Regions from separate parts of the Homo sapiens genome. Here region 2 is linked to region 1. The links are contacts of gene promoters, found by promoter capture Hi-C in human tissues and cell types (Jung and others, 2019). All regions are on one chromosome and are shown on one strand. The core of a region is centred on a gene start or on the middle of the fragment in contact, and the rest is flanking DNA. Distances in the headings are between cores, read along the strand shown. Region 1 holds the start of SLC29A3 (solute carrier family 29 member 3). Region 2 holds the start of LINC03139 (long intergenic non-protein coding RNA 3139).

Region 1 (3,846 bases), core at 360-2,859:
GTACAGGCATCCTTCCTGCAAGCCTTGAAGCCAGTGAGTCGGGAGGGGCCCAGGCACACTGCAGGCACCCTTGTCAATGTTTGCTGAATGAACGGACTCTGCACGACCAGGACATTCTCCCCTGCTGGGGTAGCATGTACCCTGGAGCCAGCAGGTGGGGGGCCACTGGATGCCCAAGTGCAATGCATCCAGCCAGCAAGTCTATTTTAAACTCCCCTGGTTAGCAGAGCCCCTCCCCAGCCTGGATTCGCATGGAGGCCAGCATTAACAAGCTCACTGTCTGGAAGCTCACTGTGTGGAAAATCGCTTTTTCCACATGCACCCACTCATAGAGGAAAAGCCATGTGAAGGCACAGCAAGAAGGAGGCTGTCTGCAAGCCAGGAAGAGAGCCCTCATCAGAAACCAAATCAACCAGCACCTTGATCTTGCCCTTCCCAGCCTCCAGATCCATGAGAAACAAATTTTGTTTAAGCCACCCAGTCTATGCTATTTTGTCTGGCACAAAATGGTACAAATGTAACAAGCTCACTTGTTACATTTTAAAAATTAGTGTTTAAAATGTAAAAAATAATCATGACCCACCCACATAGAACAAGAGAGAACCGGCAAGTGGTTCTTTCCAGAGGCTCCAGCTACCTGTGGGGGCGGCTAGAAGGTCCACCAGCCCTGTCACTCAGGACCACACCTGGCTAGGGCCCCCTTCTCAGTTCCTAGCGTCTATTTGTCAAGGCTTGACTGAGCTTCTGAAGAAGGAGCCAGGAATTTTCTCTAACCAGGGTCACAGGCCAGGGCACTGGAGTGAGCAAAGTCTTATTAGTCTTTATAAAAGCTAGCTGCTGGCTTCTGGATTAAAAAATAAAGAGAAAGGCAGGCAAGGAAGTGCCCAACCTTCCCCAAAACAAGCTGGCTGTGGCCTGGAACGTGCTCCTGGGTCACCTGCGGGAGCCCGGCCATGCACAGACAGACAGCCCCACACAAGGAGGCAGGCACTGCTGGGGCCGCGGCAAAACCTCATCTGGGCTGGGAAGCCTGGGTGCTGGTTCCAAGGAGGTTCCTGACTCTGGCTAGGTGGCTCGCCCCTCTGTGCCTCGATCTCCTGGGCTGTGAACCGGGGTGGGGAGCTGGTAGGGCTAACCTGTGGGAAGGCACTGGGAAGCGCAGGGCACCGCCTACTGGCCGCGGCAGAACCGGCTTTGCGGTGTAAACAGCCCCAGCCTCAGGCCCCGCAGCTGGGACCGAGAGAATCAGCCACCGTCTGGATACTTCGGGCCGACGGGTCCATACCAGGCCCCCACCATACAGGCGGTGAGGTCCAGTCTCAGGGAGGAGGAGGGGAGAGGATTTGGGGAAGAGAAGATAGAGACCCAGAAAGAGGGGTGGCAGAGAGCAAGGAGAGAGAGGAGGGACGGTGGGGAAGGGACCACGGATGGGGTAGGGTCCTGCGGCTCCCCTGGCAGCCCGCAGCCGCCCCCAGGGCCCGGGAGGGAGGTCGCTGAGCGCGAGTCTGGGGGCGGCCGGGACCGTAGCCGGAAGAGCCCGAGCCGGCCCGCACTTACTGTCGCCGCTGCGCCACGCCGCCGCTGCCTCCGGCGCACGGCCAGGACCACTGGGCTTGGCAGGCGGCAGGCGGGCTCCTCCCCCGGCCCCGCCCCGCCCCTCGCGGCAGCACGCCGCCGCTTCCCCGTTTGCAAACACGCTTTTTTCCTTTGTCTTCTGCCGGCGCGCCGGGGCTCCCCCTTCTGGCGCTGAGCTGGGGCCTGCGTGCGCCCATTTTATAGGAGAAAAAGTGAGTCACCCAGTCTTAAACGCACTGCCCATGCTTGCGATGGGTGCGCTGCGCATCAGGCCTTTTGGTTGCTGCTCCTTCTTTACCTTGGAGCCAGACCCCACTGTCTCAGACCTCCCCTTTAGCTACTATAACCTGCACCCCAGGACTCAAAGGAGCCCTCATCTTGTCCCCAGGCCGCTGCAGAGACCCCTCTCCAAAGGCCGCTTCTACCCTTACCGGCTGCCGCTGCTCTGGAGGTGAAGCGGGACCCACACCCGGACTGAACTGGGCCTCCCAGGCCAGGCAGCTATTTTCAGTAGACCCAGAACATGGCAGTCAGCAATTCCAGCCCTCACACTTGACCTCAGCCATAGCGTGTAACACACAGCTGCCGCGTGTTCTTTAAGAAAGCAGGGGCCGGGCGCGGTGGCTCACGCCTGTAATCCCAGCACTTTGGGAGGCCGAAGCAGGCGGATCACCTGAGGTCGGGAGTTTGAGACCAGCCTGGCCAACATGGCGAAACCTCGTCTCTACTGAAAATACAAAAGTAGCCGGGCATGGTGGTGCGTGCCAGTGATCCCAGCTATGTGGGAGGCTGAGGCAGGAGAATCGCTTGAACCCGGGAGGCGGAGATTTCAGTGAACCGAGATGGTGCCACTGCACTCCAGCCTGGAGCCTGGGCGACAGAGCAAGACTCCATCTCAAAAAAAAAAAAAAAAAAAAAAAGGCGGAAACCTTCCTGACTCCCGGTCCTGGCCCAGTTGGCCTATTCAGAGCGGGGATCTGGATGCTTCACAGGGCCTGAAGATCTGTGACCATGGATAGTAAATTCTTGCAGTTGCCATCCCAGGGCTCAGGGGTGCCACAGAACCCATTGAGGCTGTCAGTGTGTGGACAGGTTCTCAGAACATCCCCACTCCCTGCCCCAGCCTCTCATTTTATAACCACCATTCCCCAAACACTGGCCTGATCATAAAAGTCTCGAGTACACATCCAGATTCTGGGGACCTCTCCCCAGGAGGGTTGCTGCCACTCCCCAATCCCTGAGGGTGGTGCTGTATCTGCTTTGTTTGCTCTTCCCTCATCGTGGGCACATAATTTGTGTTCAATAAATACCTGGATTAATACAACCCATCACTCAGGGGGTGCAGAATGGGGATCCAGAATGGATCTATTTAACAAGCTCCACCAGCAGGCGAGTTTGGAGACTAGCACCCTAAATTGTCAGAAAGCCCCCCGGCCCAGGAGAGGAAGGGGCTTAGCTCCAGGCTTACAAGCTGAGGGATAATGGTAAAATTACTAAACCTCTCTGAAACCCAGGGTCGGCTTAGGACTGTCGGGAGAATTAAGTCAGGTGATCCATGCCAGGCACTCAATGCAAATTTCCATCACTTCCAAGGAAGACACTCCCCACCCCCAAAATGTGATAGTGTATATGTTAGTTTAGTCATCAGGCCTTATTTTTAGCCTCTTTACGTTGGAAAAAAATCCTCTAATATACAGAGCATTTTCATGAACAGTCTCCCATTTGATTCCACCCCCCCACCCCAGTACCCAGTGAAATGGGACTGTTGTCCCCATTTTACAGATGAGGAAAGCCAGGCTCAAAGAGGTCAAGTGGCTTCCCAGGGCACACAGCTGGCAGTGATGGAGTGGCAGAACCCAGAGCCAAGGCTCTTTTTGTCATGCCCGGTTACAGGCAGGCAGGTGAGGCTGAGGGGAGCTGGGACAGCACGAGGGACAAAGCCGTAGGATTCAGTGAGGGCAGCAGATCAGGGCTATTTCTGGTCCAGCCCCAAGACCATGACCCATGTCTGTGAAGCTCCGGTGCTTTGTCACTTGATTGCTTTTACTTCATGCAGAGTCCTGAGTTGTTTGTAGTCATTGTTATCTTTATCTTTGGAGAATGTGCATGTATGTGAGTGAGTGAGACAGTTTCAGGACACCTGCTTAGAGAATCAGAGGTGCCAGGAGCCCTCTTCCAGAGCTCTGAGGCTGAGGTCTTTCTCCAAATGGAGGAGGCGCCAGCCACTTGGGGATTTGCTGGTTGCTAGGGCTGAGTTCAGGAAGGGGCTCT
Region 2 (3,846 bases), core at 922-3,421, 560 kb before region 1:
AGAAGAAAAGAAAAAGGAAAGAACAAAAATAGCCAGGTGTGGTGCTGTGCCTGTAGTCCCAGCTACTTGAGAGGCTGAGGCAGGAGGATCTCTTGAGCCCAGGATGTTGAGGCTGCAGTTAGCTATGATCGTGCCACTGCACTCCAGACTGCATGACAGAGTGAGACCCTGTCTCAAAAAAAGAAAAGAACAAGCATTACAGGGGCTGGGGGTAAGGGGGATGGGGATGGGACGTTATCGTTTAATGGGTACAGAGTTTCTGCTTTGCAAGATAAAGCGAGTTCTGGAGATGGGTGGTGGTGACTTTGCACAGCACAATGCGTGTATTTCATACCACTGAACTGTACACTTAACAAACAGTGAAGCTGGCAAATTTTATGTTATATATATTTTACTACAATTTTAAAAGCTGGGGGAAGAATTGCAAATTTTGGCTGCACAGCCTTTACATCAGAGGAGATGGCCCAGGTGCAGCCATGTGCGGTGGCTGCGGAGGCAACAGTGAAGATGACAATGATTGCTGACATTTAAGAAGTCCCCAGAGACAGCAGGGATAATGAGTAGGAAAAAACTCTGAGGGCAGGGGCTATGTCATACCCTCCTCTCCATACCCAGCACCAAGCCCATAGAGTGCAGTGGCGGGCTCTCAGCCACAGCGGCTGAGGAAGTGGTTGCGTCTGCATCGGCCTGCAGTGGACTGCCGGGGCAGGAAGAAGAACTAGCTTGTCTTTCACGGAGTCTTGTGTCCTTAAACCCAGATAAAGCGGCCTAGAGACAGTGAGAGAACAATGAGGGTTGTTGCAGACTAAAGCCGGGCCCTGGGCAATGTTTGGCCTCTGCCTGGGCCTCGGGCCCCACCCCCCATGTCCCCGGGCCCCACCCCCCAGGTCCCCGGGCCCCACCCCCCAGGTCCCCTTCCAGAACTTCACCAGTCTTGCCGGCCTCTCAGAGAGTCAGCCAACCCCTGAGGCCTTTCGGGGACTGATAACGCTCACCTTTGGCTCAGACTGAATCCAAACACTTCACCTCTTTTTCTTCACAGAGCCCCATCCTCCAAAGGACCCTGTTCCAGCTTGTGACAAACCCAGAGGCAATCCTGGTCATCCGGAGGAGGAGGTGTCTGTGCCGTTGCTTGGAGCTGACTGTAGGCCTAGAGGCACAGGATTATACAGGATTGTAAGAGAATTGTATTTTTCTTCCTTGCATTTTTCGGTGTTTTCTAAATTTTTTCAATGAGTATCCTTTTGAGAATCATTAAAAAAGAATACATTTTACTTGACAAGGTATATAAATACATGGGTTAAGATATTAAAATAGAAAGAGTAAGGATTGCTTGCACGTTACAGAGTCTGGGATTTGGAGCTCAGTGCCTGGCACTGAGGGGATCAAAGTGCCAGGTGCTCAAAGTGTTCGTTGAATGAGAGGCGGGGGTGGGGGTAATGGGTGGTGAGACTGCTACCCTGTCCCTCCTCCCTCACCACATCAATGTCTGTGAAGCATTTCTAGAGGATCTACTGTGCAATGGAACCCTGGGAGCCAGGGGTGACTGGGGAGGCAGCAGGTGCAGGTGCTGGTAATGCCGTGCCATTGGGAGCCCCACTGGGGGTCCTCCATGAATCACAGGGGACCCATACCCAGGATACTGAGGAAGCTTCCAGAAAAAAAGAGTGATGCTGGCCCTGGATTGTGAGGATGGGCAGGGGTTTTTTGGAGTGGGAGAAGGGTACAGGTGTTCCAGGTCATCAGTCCAAGTTCCTTCACTCCTTCATTATTTACTTGCTCAGTCATTTCACAAACAACCTTTTTTAAAATAATTAGACAGGGGTCTCACTATGTTGCACAGGCTGGTCTCTCACTCCTGGGCTCTGGCGGTCCTCCCGCCTTGGCCTCTGAAAGCGCTGGGATTGCAGGTGTGAGCCACCATGCCCAGCCTCACAAACATTTATCTGCAGTCCAAACTGGATCCAAACTCTCCTCACCGCACCTCTGTTTCTGGAGAATGCTTCCAGGGCGCCTAGAATATACCAGGTCCTGACCTAGTGACTAGAGATACAGCTGCCACTCATAAATAAACATATGCTAGCATGGCAAGAAGAAAAGATGGCAGGATGGCAGAGAGAAAGCTGCTAGGGAGCAGATGCAGAATGAATATCTGGAGCAGGAGCAAAGGGCAAGAGCCTCCAGACTGGGGGGAAACGACCTGGGCATGCTCAAAGGCAAAAGAGGCCACTGGAGATGTGTGAACAGCAAATGGTGTGATCTGATTGGGATCGTAAAGGATCACTTCCACACAACAGTGATCACACTTTGTCCACAGGCACCCTTTAAAAAACCCCTTTCAAATTTTTTTTTTTTTTTTTTGAGATGGACTCTCACTCTGTCACCCAGGCTGGAGTGCAATGGCACGACCTCGGCTCACTGCAACCTCCACTTCCCAGGTTCAAGCGATTCTCCTGCCTTAGCCTCCTGAGTAAGTGGGATTACAGGCACCTGCCACCATACCCGGCTAATCGTTATAGTTGCAGTAGAGACGGGGGTTTCACCATGTTGGCCAGGCTGGTCTCGAACTCCTGACCTCAGGTGATCCGCCCTCCTTGGCCTCCCAAAGTGCTGGGATTACAGGCATGAGCAAATGTGCCTGGCCCCTTTGAAATTTTTATCATTAGCCTAAACTTGCAAATGATGCATTTGGTGGTTTGCTGTAGACTGTATATCATCTTTAAATATTTTTTCCGCTCCCGCTCCCGCTCCCTCTCCCTCTCCCTCTCCCCACGGTCTCCCTCTCCCTTTCTTTCCACAGTCTCCCTCTGATGCCGAGCCGAAGCTGGATGGTACTGCTGCCATCTCGGCTCACTGCAACCTCCCTGCCTGATTCTCCTGCCTCAGCCTGCCGAGTGCCTGCGATTGCAGGCGCGCGCCGCCACGCCTGACTGGTTTTCGTATTTTTTTGGTGAAGACAGGGTTTCGCTGTGTTGGCCGGGCTGGTCTCCAGCTCCTAACCGCGAGTGATCCGCCAGCCTCGGCCTCCCGAGGTGCCGGGATTGCAGATGGAGTCTCGTTCACTCAGTGCTCAACGGTGCCCAGGCTGGAGTGCAGTGGCGTGATCTCGGCTTGCTACAACCTCCACCTCCCAGCCGCCTGCCTTGGCCTCCCAAAGTGCCGAGATTGCAGCCTCTGCCCGGCCGCCACCCCGTCTGGGAAGTGAGGAGCGTCTCTGCCTGGCCGCCCATCGTCGGGGATGTGAGGAGCCCCTCTGCCTGGCTGCCCAGTCTGGAAAGTGAGGAGCGTCTCTGCCTGGCCGCCATCCCATCTAGGAAGTGAGGAGCGCCTCTTCCCGGCCGCCATCACATCTGGGAAGTGAGGAGCGTCTCTGCCCGGCCGCCCATTGTCTGAGATGTGGGGAGCACCTCTGCCCTGACGCCCCGTCTGGGATGTGAGGAGCGTCTCTGCCCGGCCGCCCCGTCTGAGAAGTGAGGAGACCCTCTGCCTGGCAACCGCCCCGTCTGAGAAGTGAGGAGCCCCTCCGCCCAGCAGCCACCCCGTCTGGGAAGTGAGGAGCGTCTCCGCCCGGCAGCCACCTCGTCCGGGAGGGAGGTGGGGGGGTCAGCCCCCCGCCCGGCCAGCCGCCCCGTCTGGGAGGGAGGTGGGGGGGTCAGCCCCCCGCCCGGCCAGCCGCCCCGTCTGGGAGGGAGGTGGGGGGGTCAGCCCCCCGCCTGGCCAGCCGCCCCGTCCGGGAGGTGAGGGGCGCCTCTGCCCGGCCGCCCCTACTGGGAAGTGAGGAGCCCCTCTGCCCGGCCACCACCCGGTCTGGGAGGTGTACCCAACAGCTCATTGAGAACGGGCCAT

What was found. Contacts are between HindIII fragments. The study calls those that stand out against the background at their distance.
Region 2: a contact is called between a fragment that was not itself captured here and the fragment with the promoter of SLC29A3 in region 1, in 2 of the 25 tissues and cell types used here (lymphoblastoid cells and spleen).

Annotation. Positions count from the first base shown.
Region 1 is chr10:71,317,022-71,320,867 of GRCh38, reverse strand. It overlaps SLC29A3 (solute carrier family 29 member 3), which reads right to left and starts at 1,609. Exons shown (of 6, transcript NM_018344.6): 1 at 1,558-1,609. The coding sequence starts at 1,558. LOC124902445 (a long non-coding RNA gene) reads left to right here and starts at 1,205. Exons shown (of 2, transcript XR_007062183.1): 1 at 1,205-1,306; 2 at 1,964-2,899. RefSeq lists a silencer at 1,363-1,812. The HindIII fragment of the contact is 13,989 bases long and covers 1-3,846 here.
Region 2 is chr10:71,875,635-71,879,480 of GRCh38, reverse strand. It overlaps LINC03139 (long intergenic non-protein coding RNA 3139), which reads right to left and starts at 1,394. Exons shown (of 2, transcript XR_007062186.1): 1 at 996-1,394; 2 at 374-768. RefSeq lists an enhancer at 2,604-3,484. The HindIII fragment of the contact is 7,970 bases long and covers 1-3,846 here.